Regions from separate parts of the Homo sapiens genome. Here all the other regions are linked to region 1. Evidence: promoter capture Hi-C in 16 types of primary human blood cells and fetal thymus (Javierre and others, 2016). All regions are on one chromosome and are shown on one strand. Each heading gives the region's core, a stretch centred on a gene start or on the middle of the fragment in contact. The rest is flanking DNA. Distances are from core to core; before and after follow the strand shown.

What was found. The method cuts DNA at HindIII sites, captures the fragments that hold promoters and counts their contacts. A CHiCAGO score of 5 or more calls a contact.
Region 2: a contact is called between a fragment that was not itself captured here and the fragment with the promoter of ZNF420 in region 1, in 1 of 17 cell types (total CD4 T cells). The highest score is 7.5, in total CD4 T cells.
Region 3: a contact is called between the fragment with the promoter of ZNF235 here and the fragment with the promoter of ZNF420 in region 1, in 6 of 17 cell types (total CD4 T cells, non-activated CD4 T cells, activated CD4 T cells and 3 more). The highest score is 22.8, in total CD4 T cells.
Region 4: a fragment that was not itself captured here is called in contact with the fragment with the promoter of ZNF420 in region 1 in 1 of 17 cell types (non-activated CD4 T cells); the score reaches 6.3 in non-activated CD4 T cells.
Region 5: a fragment that was not itself captured here is called in contact with the fragment with the promoter of ZNF420 in region 1 in 2 of 17 cell types (non-activated CD4 T cells and total CD4 T cells); the score reaches 6.2 in non-activated CD4 T cells.
Region 6: a contact is called between the fragment with the promoter of ZNF223 here and the fragment with the promoter of ZNF420 in region 1, in 2 of 17 cell types (non-activated CD4 T cells and total CD4 T cells). The highest score is 6.0, in non-activated CD4 T cells.
Region 7: a contact is called between a fragment that was not itself captured here and the fragment with the promoter of ZNF420 in region 1, in 1 of 17 cell types (non-activated CD4 T cells). The highest score is 8.2, in non-activated CD4 T cells.

Annotation. Positions count from the first base shown.
Region 1 is chr19:37,077,057-37,079,942 of GRCh38, forward strand. ZNF420 (zinc finger protein 420) reads left to right here and starts at 1,377. Exons shown (of 5, transcript NM_144689.5): 1 at 1,377-1,514. It overlaps LOC105372390 (a long non-coding RNA gene), which reads right to left and starts at 1,141. Exons shown (of 2, transcript XR_001754095.2): 1 at 1,042-1,141. RefSeq lists a silencer at 833-1,122 and an enhancer at 1,213-1,452. The HindIII fragment of the contact is 14,557 bases long and covers 1-2,886 here.
Region 2 is chr19:44,506,487-44,509,372 of GRCh38, forward strand. The region is part of intron 11 of CEACAM20 (CEA cell adhesion molecule 20); the gene reads right to left. Among named protein-coding and RNA genes, the nearest start is that of ZNF180, 7.4 kb to the left of the region's middle. The HindIII fragment of the contact is 1,542 bases long and covers 723-2,264 here.
Region 3 is chr19:44,303,656-44,306,541 of GRCh38, forward strand. It overlaps ZNF235 (zinc finger protein 235), which reads right to left and starts at 1,370. Exons shown (of 5, transcript NM_004234.4): 1 at 1,316-1,370. RefSeq lists enhancers at 1,153-1,706, 2,283-2,784, 2,785-2,886. The HindIII fragment of the contact is 5,796 bases long and covers 937-2,886 here.
Region 4 is chr19:44,191,691-44,194,576 of GRCh38, forward strand. It overlaps a transcript of ZNF226 not described here. Among named protein-coding and RNA genes, the nearest start is that of ZNF227, 19 kb to the right of the region's middle. The HindIII fragment of the contact is 1,152 bases long and covers 944-2,095 here.
Region 5 is chr19:44,174,721-44,177,606 of GRCh38, forward strand. ZNF226 (zinc finger protein 226) reads left to right here. Exons shown (of 6, transcript NM_001032373.2): 6 at 778-2,886. Among named protein-coding and RNA genes, the nearest start is that of ZNF226, 11 kb to the left of the region's middle. The HindIII fragment of the contact is 8,400 bases long and covers 1-2,886 here.
Region 6 is chr19:44,050,685-44,053,570 of GRCh38, forward strand. It overlaps ZNF223 (zinc finger protein 223), which reads left to right and starts at 1,352. Exons shown (of 5, transcript NM_013361.6): 1 at 1,352-1,511. RefSeq lists enhancers at 1,018-1,519, 1,339-1,578 and a silencer at 1,239-1,298. The HindIII fragment of the contact is 18,414 bases long and covers 1-2,886 here.
Region 7 is chr19:43,942,835-43,945,720 of GRCh38, forward strand. No RefSeq gene overlaps it. Among named protein-coding and RNA genes, the nearest start is that of ZNF221, 7.0 kb to the right of the region's middle. The HindIII fragment of the contact is 3,684 bases long and covers 1-2,886 here.

The DNA of each region.
Region 1 (2,886 bases), core at 127-2,626:
CCTCTGAAGGAGTGGTGAAATTATACTCTATCTTCTCTGTGCTGGAAGTTCACAAGTTTTTGATTATTCAAAAATCATAAAAGGCCAAGAGGTCTTGAAGTAAGTAAAAATAAGTTCAGGTTTACCAACAAACTCTACAGCCTTAAGTTACTTTCTGCCGGCCAAGGTTTTCTCATCAGAAAATGAGGACAAGTGTTTGACCTAGAATTTGGGAAATCTGACTAGTGCTGTACTGTGCTAAAATTCACTCTTCTTATGTATAACGTTGTTTTATTATTTTATTAGTTGATGGCCTCTCAACCGTACCCAGTAATAAGAGAAACTTTACCCTCTAATTAGAAAATAATGGATATCTACTTTTGGCCTGCTGTGGCAGAGGAAAAGGCAGTTACCCTAGGACTGGTTTTGAAATAATCTTTCTAAAAACAAAGAAAAAACTACGTTAATTTTGGATTCTTCCCGATAACACATATATTTGATCCAATAGAAAAATGATGTCTAAATTACTTGTCAGATAAATTGATTATCTTTTCCAGATTATTACATTACTATTTAAGGAAGAAATAACTTGGCCATAGTATTTTCACTGTCACACACGATCACACACAGCTCATTTGCTCTTGGCACCCTTACAGACACTGAAATACAAGCACAAAGAAAGCACGTTTATATAACACAGATCACCAGTTACTCAATTACGGCCACACACAAAAAAGCAGATATACATACAGATACCCTTCATAAGCAAACCACAATAGAGATCTGTGTAAAATCGTCTTACTCTGTTAGACGATTCTACACAGTTATAAAATCCCATTACTACGCAGCTTAAAGTACAAATCACCTCACACCCCACAGCAGGAAGAATCACACACAGGCAGAAACACAACCATACACACCCGGCCACGGAAAGACTCTCAGTCCACCTGGCATCTCCCATTGTCACACACACCCCAAGGGCCTGGGAGGGCACACACAGGGTCCTCTGCAAATCCGAGGTTCCGGCGGGTCCCCGCACCGGCCCCAGCTCCTCCCCCGCACCTGCCTGGCCGGCGGGTCCCACCCTCTCTCCTGCCAGGGGTAGACCCTGGGACCACTCAGCTCGCTCTCGCAGGCCCTGAGCGTCTGACGCCTGCGCACTGAGCGCGGGCGGGCGGGCACTCCCAGAAACCTCCGGGGCGCTGCAGGCGGGACAAGCAGGTTCCACAGGCCGAGCCCACGAGCCCCTCGAGGGGTGAGCGGCCCGGGCCTCCTGGCGTTCTGGCCGGCTAGCCAAGCGCTGGACTACATTTCCCAGAGGCACGGCGTCCGGAGCGCTGGACTACATTTCCCAGAGGCACCGCTCCCGGAGCGTAGCTTCATTTCCGTTAGTTTGCGAGATTTGGAGGCCTCGCGTGGGGAGAGGGCCGCGTCTGTGGAGGAGCTTGGCTCCGCACCTGCTGGGCTGGCGAACCCGAAATTGGGCTTGGAACCCGGGAGCCAGATCTTGGACCCTGAACTGCACCTCTGTCAAGGTAGGAGTGTCCGGGATGCCGGAGCGGACACGCGCGGAGAAAGCGTCGCTGGGGTTACTCGTGTGGCCGTGTCTCCGGTTTTGTGTGCAGGCTACAGCCTGCCTGGTATTGGCGACTGCCTGTGCATACACGACTGGACGTGTGTGGCTGTGGTTTTGTGTATGAGCATTTGTATGAGTGTGAGTTGTGACTCTGAGGGTGTTTGTGACTGTTTGCTTACCTGGCTGGGATATACTTATGTGACTGTGATTTTATGTGTGCCGCGTGTATAATTGGGGTTTGCCTGTGACTATGAAGTGTGTGACAGTTGTGACAAGAGTGTTTGGATGTTCTTGTGTCACTTTGAGGTTGTGTGTAAACCTGATATCGTGGGATGGATTTGCCAGTAAATTTAAGGTGTGTGACAGTGTTGCTGTGACACGGTGTTTATTACCGCGTGTTTCCCTGATTTCGTACTGGGTTGGGTGACTGTCTGATTGTGTGTGACTGTGGGGTTGTGTGTGCTGTTTTCATGACTGTGTAAAGAGACTAAAATTGCAGCTTTGAAAGGGTGTTTTTGGCGGTATGTGTCTCTGACAAGGTGCTTGGATGTAATTATATGCCTTGTACTTAATGGGATTTTGTTTGAGACAAGGTGGTCTAACAATGTAGCATAATTGGGTGATTGTGCCTCTAGCTGTGTAACTGTGGAAATGTGATTATGTGTGACTTTATGTGGCCATTTGTATATTCTGTGACCTTATGGGGGTTTAGTCCAGTACAGAAGTAAATTTCTTTTTGGTATTTCTGGGGTTCATTTGGGGCTGAGGTCTGCCTATGGATTGTGAGTCCCATGTGGCTCTGTGCTCCTCCCATGTGGCTCTGAGGACTTAAGGACTTTTTGATTTGACCACAGTGGCTGCCCTTTCATCCATGGCCTGTATTGCTTCATTTCTGTATCCATCCTCGGTTCACCTTGGGAAATGTAGTTACTTACGAGTTCACGACTTCTTCCCTGCGTCCTCTTGCCTTATAGCCTTAAGGGGATTGGGTGCAGGGAAGTGGCAAGAAGTAAGGAAGTCAGACATTTGGACACCTGAGTGATGAATAGGAGTTATTTGCAAGTTACAGACCTGGTCTTAGGATGAGAATTTTAGGGCTGATAATACCTTCAAGACAGCCACTGGATGCTGTGCGCGGTGGCTCACATCTGTAATCCCAGCGCTTTGGGAGGCAGAGGCGGGTGGATTACCTGAGGTCATGGTTTCACCATGACCTCTACTAAAAATACAAAATTAGCTGGGCGTGGTGGCGCATGCCTGTAATCCCAGCTACTTAGGAGGCTGAGGCAGGAGAATTGCTTGAACCCGGGAGGCGGAGGTTGCAGTGAGCC
Region 2 (2,886 bases), core at 244-2,743, 7.4 Mb after region 1:
GGCAAGACCTGTGACTTGCATCTAACCAATAGAATATGGCAAAGGTGGCAGGATATACATGATTGCATGTATGTGATTCTGTTACATAAGATTATGACTTCTGTCTTGGCTTGAAGAAGCAAGATGCAATGTTGTGAGCTGCCTGTGGAGAGGGCCACATGGCAAAGAACTGAGGATGACCTCCAGCTGACAGTAAGAAACTGAGGCCCTCATTATGACAGCCTGCAAGGAACTGAATGCTGCTAATGACCACATGAGCTTGGAAGTGGATCCATCCCCAGCTGAGCCTCAGATGAGACCTGGGCTTTGACTGGCACCTTGATTATACAGCCTTGCAGAAGAGCTAACTAAGCAATGCCTGAACTCCTGACCCACAGAAACTGTGAGATAATGAATTCATGTTGTTTTAAGCTGCAAAGTCTGTGGTAATTCATTATACAGCAACTGATAACTCTACACCCTCTTCAGGGCCTTTTTTACTGATGCCTCTCAAGTTGGAATGTTTCCTTTCATACTGTTTGCATGGTTTGCTCCTTCTAATCCCTCCAGAATGTAGCAGACACTGAGTTCACTGAGTTGACTGACCTAACCTTCTTCCCCACACCACCTCCCTTGCTTGCTTCTATTGAAGAGGCTGGGAATGTTAATGTACCACTTTCTCAGCCTCTGTTGCTACAAGGAGCACCATATGACCTTATTCTGGCTAATGAGATATAAGAGGAAGCTTACTAGGTGGTATTTCTGGGAAGACCTTTTGCCCGACTAATAATAGGAAACAAACATGGCTCCCCTACGCAGACACTGGTGAAGAGAGGGACTTAGGTGGCTAAGTTTTTACCAGTTCAAAGCTGATTAGAGAGCTGACAAAACTAAACATGATCCATACCATGGCCTGAATCAATCTGATTCTTCTATGGAGAATTTGAACCTAGAAATGCTTAAAGGGCAGCAGAAGATGTTGTTATATATACTCTGAAGTTATAGAGAAGCAATGACCAGGACATTTACATAGAAATTCAATCTGGATTGAGAAGAATGAGATGAATTCATAGATTAGTGAAAATGAGAAACTGTATAATAAGAGAGAAACAGCTTCTTGATAGCATTCAAGTCGCCAAGAGGCCCAGGAGTAATTTCTGAAATTGAGTTATCTGATATTTCTCAGTGTTCTCTCAATTAATCCCCATTCGAACTACATTCAAAGGGTTTAACTTTCTTAACATTAAAAATTCTTGACTAAGATATTAATATATGAAACATTCAGCCAGGTGCAGTGGCTTGCGTCTGTAATCCCAATACTCTGGGAGGCCAAGGTGGGATGATCGCTTGAGCCCAGGAATCTGAGGCTGCAGTTGGCCATGATCGCACTACTGCACACAACCTGGGTGAAAGAGCAATACGTTGTCTCAAAAAACTAAAAAGGTGTATAGGATATTCACATTTTTCAAGAATAGTTATCTGTCTGTTAGGCTAAAATCTACCCTTCTTTTACCTATCCTCCATGGTAATTTATGTGCCCTCTGGAACAACAAGGAACACATTTATCCCTCTACTTGAAGCCTGTCAGACACTAAAATATTGGAGTTCTCTGTCCCTAAACTTTCTCTTTTCCAAACCCAAGAAAACCCTGTCAGTAGGACATGGATTTGAGCCCCTGTTCTGGCCTCTCTCTTATTCCTCCTCTGGATAAATTCTGACTGGTCACTGGCTTGTTCAGAATATAGAATCTGAAGTCCATTCTTGGAATTGGAGTAATCTGGCTGTCCTGATGACAGGGTTGAGATCACTTGCATTCTCTAAAATAATTCTACTAGTCCTTAGAACTATGGAGCCATCACTTGACTGCTCTAAACTTGTTACTGGAATTTTGCTTATGCCTGGATGAACTAATAGTTTTCTTCTTTTTTATTTTTTTCTTTCTGAGACAAGGTCTTGTTCTGTTGCCCAGGCTGGAGTGCAGTAGCTCGACCTCAGCTCACTGCAACCTCCGCCTCCCAGGTTCAAGTGATTCTTCTGCCTCAGCCTCCCAAGTAGCTGGGATTACAGGTGCCTGCCACCATGCCCAGCTAATTTTTGTATTTTCAGTAGAGACAGCGTTTCACCATGATGGCCAGGCTGGTCTCTAACTCCTGACCTCAAGTGATCTGCTCGCCTCCACCTCCCAAAGTGCTGGGATTACAGGCGTGAGCCACCGCGCCTGGCCCAGTTTTCTTCTTTTTGAATGATGTAACTAATCATACCTCTCTGTTTTATTGTTACCAGGAAGCTTAGAGACACATAAGAGATATAGTGGCAGATATCACGTAGGCCCAGTATATATTTTTACTTTTTACCCATATATTGACTTCTTGCTATTGTTAAAAATATTTTTTCTGATTGTAATTTCTATTTCTAATTTAACACCATTTTGTAGTGTTGTATATAAACTGCTTCAAATCTTCCATGGGAAAAACTGCTTCAAATCTCCCATGAGAAAAATGTGGGGAAGTAAATATCATGAATGAAATGAAAGATTGGAAAGGAAAGGAAATGAATGAAAAGGAATAGACTATTTAGGAATGTAACTGAAAGAGATGGCAAAGGCATAAATGAAATGGAGGGAAATTGAATAGGACAGAAAGGAATACAATAAAAATTAAAGGCAGAGAATGGAGTGAAATAAAATGGCATGATGTCCAAAGAAGTGCAAATGAAAGAAATTAAATGAAAAGGAAAATTGTAACAGAAAGAAAGAAATAAAGTAAAATAAAATGGAGCAGAAAAGAGAGTAATAAAATAAGGTAATGAGGGGAGAGAAGTGGAGAGGAAATTAGAGAAAAGTAATATAGTAGAAGGAAAGTATAACATTAAAGAATAAAAATAAAGCAACGAAATTAAAAAAAAAAC
Region 3 (2,886 bases), core at 120-2,619, 7.2 Mb after region 1:
CAGACCTAAATCAAATACAGCTCTCTGTGTACTCCTTCTGAACTTTAGTTTCCAAGGAAATGAGACACAGACAGGCAGGGGAATGTAACAGAGCCAAAATGCCTGGCTTCAAATTTTGGCATTTCTACCTATTTTCAACTGATCAGCAGTATAAACCTTAAGCGAATTATTAATCTCTCTGTGCCTTAATTCAGTTACCTGTGAATGGGGACAATAATAATGCCTGTATTCTCTATTTCCTGCAGCTTCTGACAAGCAAGTGCTATTATGCTTCATAAAACTGCCCTTTTGAGTATGCTTTCTAGAAAATGAATCTTTTAAGAAACCCAGAACTCAAAAATAATTGCTCTGTCCTGTGAGTTACCATTACCCTCAGAAAAGTCTGTAACTGTGATTGGTTGTCTAACATAATTAGTTCCGTTGGTAATGATAGTTAAACTGCCACAGGTTTTTTTTTCCTCCAACAGATGTAATTACTTGCAAATGTTACTAAGCTGGAGGAGCCTCAAGAAAGTCTCTTTTTCCACATGCATGAAAGCAATGACTAATAAAAACCTAAAACTCTCTAAGAAATGGTGTTACACTTAAGTTAACCACACGGGATTATTGGTTATAACCACATTATACTGAACATTTATTAGGGCCTCAGGACACCTCTGGCACTCTGCAAATCCGTAATGACGATCGCTTATCTGAGATAAAACACACAGGACATTCCCCAGGCTCCGCTGGAACTAATTCCTGTCTCCTAAACAAGAGGCTAGAAAAGTCCAAGAATCCAGGAACGGCCCCACATCAGGCAAGGATTAGAGAAGGGACAGCGGCTCCGTAGCTGGATCTCCTAGACTCAGAGGAGTTTCCAAACAACAGGCGTCTTTTTCAGTATTATAACAGAATTAACGGTGGCATCCAACATTTTCCTATGCACTGGTTTTAAGCTTATTTCTATAAAACCTCATTTAATTCTCACAAGAACATCACTGGGAACGCACTAACCCTTTACAGGCACGAGGAAACTGAGACAAGGAGAGATTAAGTAACTTGCCCAATATTTTACTGCGAGGAGCAGGCAGGACTGGCTGGTAGGTGCGTGAGGACGGCTAGGGCAGCAGACCCTCAACCTCGAAGGACGACGCGAGCCCGCCTCCCACGCAAGAGGTTCTGCCGAGGGGACGCAAACTCCCGCAGCCTCCCAACCCCGCCCTCCAGCGCTGGCCGCGGCTTCTCTTCCCCAAGCCAAGGACGGGTTCATTGCTGGCCCCACGCCTAGGCAAAGAGGGCTCGGAGAAGTCTTGGAGACCCGGAGCTGACTCACCTCCCTGGGAGATATCTCAGATCCGACCTCGCCTTCCTGGAGCGGAAGTGCCTCCGAGTGCCCACGGTTCGTGGACTCCACTTCCCAGAATTCCTAAGCGGAAGCGTCTCAGAGTTCTCTCACTCCTGGACTACAGTTCCCAGAATGCTCCAAGGGCAGCGCTTCCCACCAGCTGGGCTTTGTTTTGACTCAAGCCGGTTGGGTTTGAGCCACTTCTCTGGTGCTACTACTGTGAGATTCGTTTTTGTTTTATTCATTTTTAAAAGCTCATGAGAAAATAATTGTAAAATTTTTAAAGTGATGACATATAAAAATGAAAAGTGCAGCTTGTATTATTAAAATAAGTTAGAAACCAAAATTTTTCGCAGAAGCAGAGGGTAGGCTAAAATGGGAAGCGTAAAAGTGACTTAGGCTGAGCTCCGATGGACGCTGAACGTTAAGGAACACCAGATCTCAAACTTGTGTCAAATGCCGGCTCCCCAAATATCATCAACTCAACCTGTTGATAAGACAAAAAACAGAATTTATTGTTGATTGCAGTAATGGAGAACAACACTTCGACGGAGCGTTGGCACCTTCACAGAGCAAAGTGTCAAGGCAAGGTTGGAACTGATTGAGAACTGGATGTTTAAGGCGGGTCTTTCAATGCAAGGGATTTTATTAGTATTGCATAATGATCATGATACTACAGTCCAGGATTGGTGGATATAGCAAGGATTTTTGAAGCAAAGAATCTTAAATTGCAATCTATTGACACTTTCTTTGGAAGAGATTGAAAATTTGATGGGTCTCTGTGGAAGTTCCCATAATGAACAATTAAACAGTTTGCTTGGGCAGGAATCTCCTGGAATAAAGGCCTGCTGATGAAGACAGCTGAACAATCATGTTAGTGCCGAAAGTAAATTGTGATGAAACGGGAAAAGTTCACTTCTCCCTCTCCCAGGGCATGTGATGGGGTGTGGCTCGCTTCTTCGTGCCCAGCCGCTCAAACCTCTAGGGGAGCATGCACACGGGCAGGTTGTAGGGCTCCAACCCCACGGCAGTGTCTAGGGGTGAATGTTTACAGCTCCTGAAGCCCCAGTGGGCGTGTGTTATAGGGTGCTTTTTTAGTTCAGCCATCTGTAGGAGGCTTGTGTTAGCTCAATTAGACCCCTGACTTATCGCAAGCAAGAGAGGGCTTTCTGTATCCCAGAGGTTCTTGCCTTGGTGTACCAGAAGAATCGCATCACACATAGGCTTGGAGAAAGAGTGCAAGGATTGGAGAAACCTTGGAGAACGATTTGTAAGTAGCTCTCAGCAGAAGGGGGAGCCAGAAGGGAGATGGTTTTCGCCTGGAGTCAGCCTCTCAGCGGCCTGGGCGCTCCTCCGACTACCCAGGCCAAACTGCGTTATTCCACCGGTTAATGGCCTGCTGGCCTGCCGGTCTCTTCAGTGTGCTCTTTTGCCGACCCGCTCCCCTCGACAGCCTCTCGACAGCCAGCTGTTTGTGTGTCCGCCAATGCTCTCCTCTCAACGTCCAGCAGCTTGTGTCTCTGCCTGCTAGGGTATCAGGGTTTTTATAGGCACAGGAT
Region 4 (2,886 bases), core at 270-2,769, 7.1 Mb after region 1:
TTGTGGAATAATAGTCATTCACTTAATCAGAGTGAAAAGAGATTCCAAAAGCAAATACAGAACATTACATGGATTAAAAAAAAAAACCTTAATTCTTTCAAAGCTCCTAAGTAATGAAAAACCTAATAAAGACAACATGAAGCATGAGAAATTATTTTGATAAAACAAAAAATCTTTGTTTCCTAGGCCAGCTATCAAAAGATAAAAACCTTCTACATATTTAAAAACCCCTTGTGATTGCTTCTCCCTATGGGAAACCCATTTCAATAACCTGGAAGTTGAGCCTGATGAAAAGGTACTTGAATTCAACTAAACACTGGAAGAGTGTGTATCCAAGGTTATGAGTGTACCATATTATAGAAAAGATAAACAAGAAAACAAGTACCTTGAGCAGGCGGATATGTGGCTCTTAGAAAAAGTAAAAGAATGTGGAATTTATTGGTTAAACAGCAATTCAGACACATCAAGAAAAGACAAAATTACAGAATCAAATTATACTGGAAGAAAATATTATTCCCCTAGATTCTCCTAGGCCTTAAAGACAAACATTTTTAGTGTTAGGCCACAATAGCAGAGTCAGAACTGGAGAGAGAGCCAGAGAGAGAGCGAGCGAGAGAGCGAGAGAAGCAAGAGGAGTGAGAGGTGAGAGAGGGAGAGAGTTACAGGAGCTGACTCCAAAGTTGAGGGAGAGGGTTATCATCCCTAAGGAGACAAGGAAGAGCTGAAGGCAATGATGCATGATTTTAGTCGTTCACTTAATCAGAGTGAAAAAAGCTTCCAAAAACAAATGCAGAACTTTACGTAGATGTAAAAAAAACAAACCTTAATTCTTTCAAAGCACCTAAGTAATCAAAAACCTAATTAAAGACAACATGAAGCATGTTTCTCATCAAATCATGTGCAATGAGATACAGCAAAGTGGAACTGAGATATGAATTTGAAAAGCTTCAAAAGGAAAGTTCTTTTGAGAAACTAAATTACTATTTTTAAATGAGGGAGATAGTATTTTAAAGCTGGAATAAGGGAAATTAAGTGGAAAGTGTAAAACAGGAAAAAGCTGCAGTTCAGAAGACGGCTGAAAATTTAAACGGATTTCAGAATATCAAAACCTCTTGCAGATTTTTTTTAACTAAAATCACATAAATACATCAAGAAAACCTTGTTGCTTTAAACATAGGTGAATGGATTCTGGTTTTGTATCACTGTATTAATACTCAATTTTTGATAAAACCTGTGAATAATTCCCTTTTAACTATAGGCAACTTGATTAAACACAAATTTTTTCCATAAGATTCATCTTATATAAAAAGAAAATTGTCTGACAAATATATCCAGGCAAAATGTATGCTTGCAATTCTGAAGACCTCACTATTTTAACAACAATTTTAAAATCAGTTTATTTACCAAAGATTTACCTAAGTCACACAAATTTTTAAAAGTTGGGTTTATTACTATTTTTAGTAAATAGTTATTTACTATTTTTTCTGATAAATTGCTTAATTTTTTTTCTTTACATCAGTTTCATAAAGTTCTTTTATATATTTCTGTAGAAGAATATTATGTATGTATAACACAGACCAAGAAACATACAGAAACACAAAAAGATCTTATAGCTTATCACTGTAAAATTGTAGTCAAGAAACTGTAAAATATACTAATATAAAATCACAAGTGTATAAAAAAAGACAGTTGGATCCAAATTATATTTCTGAAAAAATGGGACAAGTTAAGATCAGTTTTTCATATTGCTAATCTTTTTTTTTTCTTTTGCCTTTGATAGGTAATCTTATGAGGGAAGTGGACCAAATTTTGGGTAAAGCTGTTTTTATAGCATTTTAGTTTTTGAAAAATCTTTTACCCTTTTTTCCTCTTCAATTTTAAATGAGTTGTTTTAATTAACTTCTGGATATTTACATTTCAGTTAGGATTGGCTAGAAAAATAAACTTCCAAGAATCCTTGAACTTATTAACAAATTTAATACAAGCAAACAAGTTAGCAGATTCAGAGCGAGCAGAGAAAAAAAGAGAGCTAGCTTAGAAGCCCGTACATGTTAATCCTACAGTTCCAGTCTCTTAATTCAGCTCTAAGGAAACAAGCTTAGAGAGTTTAAATAATTCCCATAATGGCCGTACATTATCCTTAGTGTAATTTGCCAATTATTTTTTAAATGTGCATGAGAAAGGACCATAAATTTCAAATGTATAGCTGCCTCAAGTGCCAGAGGGCTTGGCATTCTTTAGAAGTTGAAGATCCCATTGCATTTCTTATCAATCTCTCAAGAGCAAAGAAAAGCCCAAAAATTTTGTCAAAAGCATTGACCAAGCTGTTTTGTTTTAACTAGTGTACCTGACACAGAATTCATCTTTTTATACTTGGCAGATGGCCTTTGTCCTAGTTGTCTAACCTATGACCAAGTTTTCCCTGGTTGTGTAGAAATTTTCTTGAGACTGGCAGGTGCCTCAGTGGTAATCTTCCTTGTCTGTGACTATTTTATCCTTACATGGGAGACGTTTTCTTTGGAGACTGGAGTCCGTCATAGATGGCAGTGACGTTCCTAGTGGCATTTATTATTATTCTTATTTTGTTGTTACTGTTGTTGTTTAGATACAAGGTCTCACTCTGTTGCCCAGGCTGGAGTGCAGTGGTACAATCACAGCTCACTACAGCGTTGAACTCCTGGGCAAAGTGATCCTGTTATCGCAGCCTCCTGAGTAGCTGGGGAGACACGCGTGCATCACCACATCTGGCTAATTTCTAAAGAAATATTTTTAGAGACAGGGTCTTGTTATGTTGCCCAGGCTGGTTTGGAAGTCCTGGTTTCATGTATTTCTCTCATCTCAGCCTCCCAGCTGGCTGGGATTACAGGCACAAGCCACCATGCCTGG
Region 5 (2,886 bases), core at 138-2,637, 7.1 Mb after region 1:
AAAGACAAACATATCTACATCCAGAAACTTTCTATACCTTGCTTTCAAAGAGACAGCATTCTTTGCTAGCCTTCCAATTTTGACTCAGTGCAAAAGCCTTAGAAGGATCCAGTGCATAGGTCTTCATGCTTTCCTTTCACCCCAAGTGATTATCAACTTTGATTTTTCTCTTCAGCAATAACTCACTTGGTGTACCCCTACCTCAGGTACAGCTTTTCAACTTTGCAGCAAAACTGTACTTTCTAGTTCTTTTTGTATTTCAGATACCTTACTTGTAAAAGCTCTTTTGCTCTATGACCTGGCTCAAACTTAAACTTGGATTTGAAGTTAGAAGAAATGTTGGAAGTCATTTATATATGAAGAAATGTTGGAAGGACTCATATATGCATACATTCCTTGAGTGACTATGAATGACTGCCGGGCAGTAACTTCTGGGCTGTGGTTGTAAACTGTGAGCACTACAAAATGTTTTTCCTTATTGATACCATATTATGGTAGGAAAGACATGGAATAAAAAATTTAGATAGTATGTCAGTAGTTGTGTTTTTAAATGGGTTTCATTAGTGCTTAGCAATTGGGAGCTTGGTGGACCATCTCTTGGTTTTGGACCATCTCTTGGTTTCTGTCAGTATGTAAACCAGAAACTTCAAATGTGTCACAAAAGATGAGCAGAACTATCCCGAGGTTCATTAAAGTCTTTTACTCTGTCCTCAGTGTGAAATCTTAAATCTTTGAACAAAAAAATTCACTATCTCTCTGAATCCTTTGTCCTTACAGGAGAGAAAAATCAAAGTAAGTTAATTACTGTTCAAGACAGAGAATCAGAAGAAGAGCTTTCTTGTTGGCAAATCTGGCAACAAATTGCAAATGACTTAACCAGGTGTCAAGACTCCATGATCAATAATTCTCAGTGTCACAAACAAGGTGATTTCCCTTACCAGGTAGGGACAGAACTGTCTATTCAAATTTCTGAAGATGAGAACTATATAGTAAATAAAGCAGATGGTCCCAATAATACTGGGAATCCAGAGTTTCCTATCTTGAGAACCCAGGATTCTTGGAGGAAAACATTCCTGACTGAGTCACAGAGATTGAACAGAGATCAGCAAATTTCCATAAAAAATAAATTATGTCAATGTAAGAAGGGTGTTGATCCCATCGGTTGGATTTCACATCATGATGGTCATAGAGTACACAAAAGTGAAAAATCTTATAGACCCAATGATTATGAAAAAGACAACATGAAGATTTTGACATTTGATCACAATAGCATGATTCACACAGGACAGAAATCGTACCAGTGTAATGAGTGTAAAAAACCCTTCAGTGATCTCTCCAGCTTTGATCTTCATCAGCAGTTACAATCAGGAGAGAAGTCTCTTACATGTGTTGAGCGTGGAAAAGGCTTCTGTTACAGCCCAGTTCTTCCTGTTCATCAGAAAGTACATGTGGGAGAAAAACTTAAGTGTGATGAGTGTGGTAAGGAATTCAGTCAGGGCGCTCATCTACAGACCCATCAGAAAGTCCACGTGATAGAGAAACCATACAAATGTAAGCAATGTGGGAAAGGTTTCAGTCGTAGATCAGCACTTAATGTTCATTGCAAGGTCCACACGGCAGAGAAACCTTATAATTGTGAGGAGTGTGGGAGGGCCTTCAGTCAGGCCTCTCATCTTCAGGACCATCAGAGACTCCACACTGGGGAGAAGCCATTCAAATGTGATGCATGTGGTAAGAGCTTCAGTCGGAATTCACATCTTCAATCCCATCAAAGAGTTCATACAGGAGAGAAACCATACAAATGTGAGGAGTGTGGTAAGGGCTTCATTTGTAGCTCAAATCTTTACATTCATCAGAGAGTCCACACAGGAGAAAAACCCTATAAATGTGAGGAATGTGGTAAAGGCTTTAGTCGGCCTTCAAGTCTTCAGGCCCATCAGGGAGTTCACACTGGAGAGAAGTCATACATATGTACTGTATGTGGGAAAGGCTTTACTCTGAGTTCAAATCTTCAAGCCCATCAGAGAGTCCACACTGGAGAGAAGCCATACAAATGCAATGAGTGTGGGAAGAGCTTCAGGAGGAATTCCCATTATCAAGTTCATCTAGTGGTCCACACAGGAGAGAAACCCTATAAATGTGAGATATGTGGGAAGGGCTTCAGTCAAAGTTCGTATCTTCAAATCCATCAGAAGGCCCACAGTATAGAGAAACCTTTTAAGTGTGAGGAGTGTGGGCAGGGTTTCAATCAGAGCTCACGACTTCAGATTCACCAGCTGATCCATACGGGTGAGAAACCATACAAATGTGAAGAGTGTGGCAAGGGATTTAGTCGTAGAGCAGATCTTAAAATTCACTGTAGGATCCACACAGGAGAGAAACCATATAATTGTGAGGAGTGTGGGAAGGTCTTCAGGCAGGCCTCAAATCTTTTGGCCCATCAGAGAGTCCACAGTGGAGAAAAACCATTCAAATGTGAAGAATGTGGGAAGAGTTTCGGTCGGAGTGCACATCTTCAAGCCCATCAAAAAGTCCACACTGGAGATAAGCCATACAAATGTGATGAGTGTGGGAAGGGCTTCAAGTGGAGCTTGAACCTTGACATGCATCAGAGGGTGCACACAGGAGAAAAACCATATAAATGTGGGGAGTGTGGTAAGTACTTCAGTCAGGCCTCAAGTCTTCAACTTCATCAGAGTGTCCACACAGGAGAGAAACCATACAAATGTGATGTGTGTGGTAAAGTCTTCAGTCGGTCTTCACAACTACAGTCTCATCAGCGAGTTCACACTGGGGAGAAACCTTATAAATGTGAGATATGTGGTAAGAGCTTCAGTTGGCGATCAAATCTTACAGTTCATCACAGAATCCATGTTGGTGATAAAT
Region 6 (2,886 bases), core at 102-2,601, 7.0 Mb after region 1:
GAACTCTCACTCACCAGGAGGTTGCCTGAAGAGACAACAGTTGAAAGCGTGCCTGCTACTCTCTCCCTTCTGGTTACAACTTATTTCTGCCCATGAAAAAGCCAGCTCAACTGCCTAATAGATAAGGCACCAAGCCAGCACACAGACCCCTTCCCTCTTCCTCCCCTACCTTTTAAAAGTGCCTGCTTTCTGCTCTAAAAGCCAAGCCGTGCACTTAAAGACAACACCTGTGCTACTTCCCCTACGCTAGCTCTAGAATAAATCACTTTCTTTATACCAGATCTCCCTCTTGTTAACTGGACGTTGCAAACGGGAAGCCACTGATCTACTTTTCAGTTACAGGGGCTGATGCTTTCCTGGCTTCTCATTGCCCCTCCCAACCCATTCTACCTGGCTCATTCTTTAAACCAGTGGTCCCCAACCGTTTTAGCACCATGGACCGGTTTTGTGGAAGACAATTTTTCCACGGACTGGGGAATGGTTTCGGGATGAAACTGTTCCACCTCAGCCATTAGATTCTCATAAGGAGCGCCTGACCTAGATCCTTCGCACGCACAGTTCACAATAGGATCCGCGCTCCTATGAGAATGTAATGCTGGGCTGATCTCACAGGAGGTGGAGCTCAGGCCATAATGCTCCCTCACCTGCCGCTCACTTCCTGCTGTGCCGCCCGGTTCCTAACAGTCAGTGGACCGGTACAGGTCTGTGGCCCTGGAGTTGGATATCCTTGCTTTAAACCCTGAGCCTCCTTTCAGCCATCTGACGGCTCAACAGTCACTCTATCTAGCTCCTTGAATATTGTATCTCCTCGCTTGTTCCCTGTCCAAGAACACTCCTGTCAATCATGGGAGACATTTAGACTTCATAAATTCTTTCTATTCAATATTTTCGCTCGAGGACTCTGGGAAGGACAACTGTCAGGGTAACAGTCTGCATTCCCCACCAGGAACCTGGGGCTATGAAATTCGTTCCCCGTGGGTGTTGCGGGAAGTGTAATCGAGGAGCACCATGTAGTCGCAACACTTGAGCCTAAAGGGTGAGGTGATGGACATTTTCCTTTTGCATCTGAGGCTCTGCAGTCCAGACACCTTGCGGGATTCCTGATACTTCAGCTCAGGTAGGCGTTTCCGGAGAATTCTGGGAAGAGTAGTCCATTTTACGGGAAGTGTAGTCCACTGGCTCGTGGAACACTGGGTATTTTGGCTCTGGCAGGTGAACCGTTGAATTCTGGGAACGATAGTCCAGACACTCTGCGGAGTCCCGGGCCCTTTGGCTCAGGGGGGCGGGTCCGGGGAATTCTGGGGAGTGGAGTCCAGACACTCTGGCGCAGAGAGGACACTTCCGGTCTCCTAGTCTGAGGTTCCTGCTTTAATGACCGGGGTAGTTTGAGCCATTTCTGCGTCTTGCAGGACATTTTGAACGAACCCCCTTTGCTTGAGGCTCGCAACCACCCGATGATCGATGATCGTCTCAGGGGAAAAGAAGCCTTGGCGAAGAGCAGAGGTTTAGAGGTGCGAGGGCGGGGAGGGTGTTTATTGTTCCCGTCAGCGGAGCCTTCTGGCGTCGGGGGGCTTTGCTCGCCTCCCGGGGGGTGGGATTGGGGTGGCCTTGTGTGCCCTGCTCTGAGGGTTTCCAGGACTTTGACCTCGCTCAGTCCGCCTCCCTACGTATGCAGTGTGTACACTCTTTCTCGCAGTGTGATGTGGAATGTTAATGTCTCTGTACTTCCCATTGCTGTTCTTTAAAATGGTGCTTATAGGGTCATCCTAATAGAATTGTTTTGCGAATTGAAAGAGATAATACAAATGAAAGCCTTAAAGTTGTCCCTGTCACTTGGTGAGTGGTCTCTTGTTGCCTGATATTTTAAAACGTTTGATATCATTTCAAAGCTATAGAAAAATTGCAAAAACAGTATAAGAAATTCTCATATACCCTTTACCCAAATTTGCCAAGTGTTTACATTTTTCCTGTTTGCTTTGTTGATGACCATCAACCAAATACCACCAGGAACATACCTGTAACCAGAGACAGCTGATTGGTAGCTTTCTGCAGCAAGGAAGCCCACATACCACGGTAATTGTGGGGTGTCTTGGTAAGAGGCATTTAGGAAGGGCTGGTTATAGGGTTTCACATAACATGGTAGATAATATTGGATATTATGTTAAATAATACTGTTACCGATTACATGTCAGATAGATGTGTTAAAAGAATACTAGTATTTGTAGTGTACTTACTAGATAGTGTTGGATAGCATATTACCTAGCATCATGTTATCTAATCTGCAGTTCCATATACGAATTTGTTAAATTTTTCATTTAAAGTCCTTATGACTGTCCTCTGCCCCACCCTTCACCTATTCAAAGTCCAGTTTATGCGTTGTCTTTAGCTGTCACATTTCCATAGTTGTTCATTTGGAGTTTGATATTGAAGGGGGCCTGCCTCTCCACACCTGTGGGTGTTTCTCACAAGGTGGAAATGAGAAACTGAGAAAAGAAATAAGACACAGACACAAAGTATAGAGGAAGAAAAGTGGGCCCAGGGGACCGGCGCTCAGCAAATGAGGACCTGTACCGGCACTGGTCTCTGAGTTCCCTCAGTATTTATTGATCACTATCTCTACTATCTTGGTGAGGGGGATGTGGAAGGACTATAGGGTAATGGTGGGGAGAGGGTCAGCCGGAAAACATGTGAGCAAAGGACTCTGTCATAAATAAGTTTAAGGAAAGGAGTTGTGCCTGGATGTGCACATAGGCCAGATTTATGTGTGACTTTACACAAACATCTCAGTGCAGTAAAGACCAGTATTGCCGCCAGTATGTCTCACCTCCAGCCATAAGGCGGTTTTCTCCTATCTCAGTAAATAGAATGTACGATTGGGTTTTATAC
Region 7 (2,886 bases), core at 100-2,599, 6.9 Mb after region 1:
TGTTGTTTGTTTGTTTATTTGTTTTTGAGACGGAGTCTGGCTCTGTCGCCCAGGCTGGAGTGCAATGGCGCAATCTCGGCTCACTGCAAGCTCCGCCTCCCGGGTTCATGCCATTCTCCTGCCTCAGTCTCCCGAGTAGCTGGGACTACAGGCGCCCGCCACCACGCCGGGCTAATTTTTTGTATTTTTAGTAGAGACGGGGTTTCACCGCGTTAGCCAGGATGGTCTCGATCTCCAGGCCTCGTGATCCGCCCGCCTCGGCCTCCCAAAGTGCTGGGATTACAGGTGTGAGCCACCATGCCTGATCGGGTCACGTTTTTAAAATAAATAATGTGACAAACATTGTCTTTATGTAGTTAGACACTTCACATTTAATGTAATTATTTATATGGTTTGATTTATACCTACCAATTTATTATTTTTGTGTTTGTCTCTTTTTGTTCCTATGTTACCTCCTTTCTTTCTTCTTTTGGATTATTTGAATTTTTTTAATGCTCTATTTTTATTTGCTTTTTTTTTTTTTTTGAGACAAGAGTCTCACTCTGTTGCCCAGGCTGTACATGTTATTTTTAAACTACATGACTTTGGTTTTATCTTTTGTTTTGTTTGATTTAGTGTTGCTTTAGAAACCCATGTATACATACCTAACATATTGTGGACTATTTTGAGCCAATAGTTTATGGCTTCACATAAAACAAGGAAAACTTACAACTATTGAGATCTGTTTATCCTCCCCTCTTTGTGCTATAGTGTGTGTATTATATCTACATGCTCTGAAAAATCCCACCAATACTTTAAATTTTTATATTCAACCATCATATATATTTTAAAGAATTTAAAAGGGGGGGAAATATTGTATTATGTGTACCAAGTTTACTAGTTCTGTTTCTCTGCCTTCATTCCTGAAACTTTCCTCTGATATTATTTCTCTTCAGCATTTCTTTTAAAGTATATCTGCTAGTGATGAATTCTCTTAGTTTTCTTTTGTCTGAGAAGGTCCTTATTTTATTTCCATTTCTGGAGGATATTTTCCTTGAATATAGTGTCTGGATTGACAATTCTTTACTTTCAGCACATTAAAATGCTGTTTTACTGTCTTCTGACATCCAGGGTTTCTGATAAGAAATTTGCATTCATTTGAAATGTTGTTGCCCTATTTGCAATGTATAATTTTTCTTTAAACGCTTTCAAACATTTTTTTCTTTATCTTTGATATTTTAATAGTTTCATTATGATGTGCTGGGGTATGGTTTTCTTCATTTTTAACATATTTAGGTTTTGCTGAGTTTTTTTTCAATCTGCAGATGTATTTCTTTTATTAAATTGGTGAAGTATTCGACTATAATTTATTTGAAAAGTTTCCTATTTCAATACCTTTCTCCTCCTCTTCTGGAATTCCAATCATGGGAATGTTAGATCTTTTAATGTTGTCCCAAATGTCCTTAGGGCTCAATTCAGTTTTTCTATTTTTGCTTTTTCTCCTCCAGATTCGATATTTTATACTGTTCAGTTTTTAAGCTCAATGAGTTGCCTTTGTCATCTCCATTCTGCTACTGACTGATTTTAAATTTCAGTTATTGTATTTTGAAGTTCTGAAATTTCCATTTGCTTGCTTTTATAGTTTCTAGTTTTCTGACAACTTTTATATTTCCATTTATTTCAAATGCTTACCTATACCTCATGGAGAATGATTACAATAACTTTTAAAAGTCTCTGATAATGCAAAAATCTAGAACATTCAGGGGTTGGAATCTCTTGAATGGCTTTTTTCTTGAAGTTGGTCAGATATACCTGTTTTTCTTTTTACATGTCAAGTAATTTTGGATTGTATCCTGAGCATTTTCAATATGTTACCAGATTCTGGTCCTATTAAAATCTATAGAGAACATTGAGGGTTTTTTTTTTGTTTGTTTTAGCAGGCAGCCAACCAGGTTAATTTCCTTTTTTTTTTTTTTTTTTTTTTTTTTTTTTTTCAGATGGAGCCTTGCTTTGTCACCCAGGCTGGAGTGTAGTGGCGTGATCTCAGCTCACTGCAGCCTCTGCCTCCTGGGTTCAAGCAATTCTTCTGCCTCAGCCTCTCAAATAGGTGGGATCACAGGCACATGCCACCACACCTGGCTAATTTTTGTATTTTTAGTAGAGATGGGGTTTCACCATGTTGGCCAGGCTGGTCTCAAAATCCTGATCTCAAAGTGATCTGCCCACGTCAGTCACCCAAAGTGCTGGGATTACAGGCGTGAGCCACTGCTCCTGTACTTAATTTCATATCATAAGTTTTGTCTCATATTCTCTATGTGTTAGTTCTAAAAACTTTGCTGTGCTATTTGGGTATGCCACTCAGTGCGCCACTCAGGGATTAGCTGATTTCTGAGCAATGGTTTATAACATAGTTCAGTTCTCAATGTATTTTCTATGTTCCTTTGGGTGTGTTATTTGAATGTGCAGCTTAGTGATGAGCCTTTAAATTGTGTCAGTTCATCCACAAAACTGAGGTATCCCCTTCTCCAGCTCTGTCTTCTGAATCTTCTCTCACACTCTCTGGATTCTAAGGGCTTTCTTCCCAAGATCCTTTGACCCAAAAGATGAGATTCTCTCAGAGTTTTAGCCTCCCACCCTGTCACCCTTGGCTTACTCTGGTGAGAGAAAAGAGAAGTATATGATAACTATCCCTCCCCACATTTTGAACAACAGAAACCTCTTTTTTTTCAGTTTCTCTATGTAGACACATACATTTTCACTCAGGATTTTACATGCCCATATGCACTAATATTAGTGCAGTTCCACCATCAGTGCTGGCATTGGGAAGGGCCAGGAAAAAAAAAAGAGATGAAAGGGAGTTTCCCCCGTACATTCTGACTCACAGAGGCCCTCTTTCTAGTTTTCTGG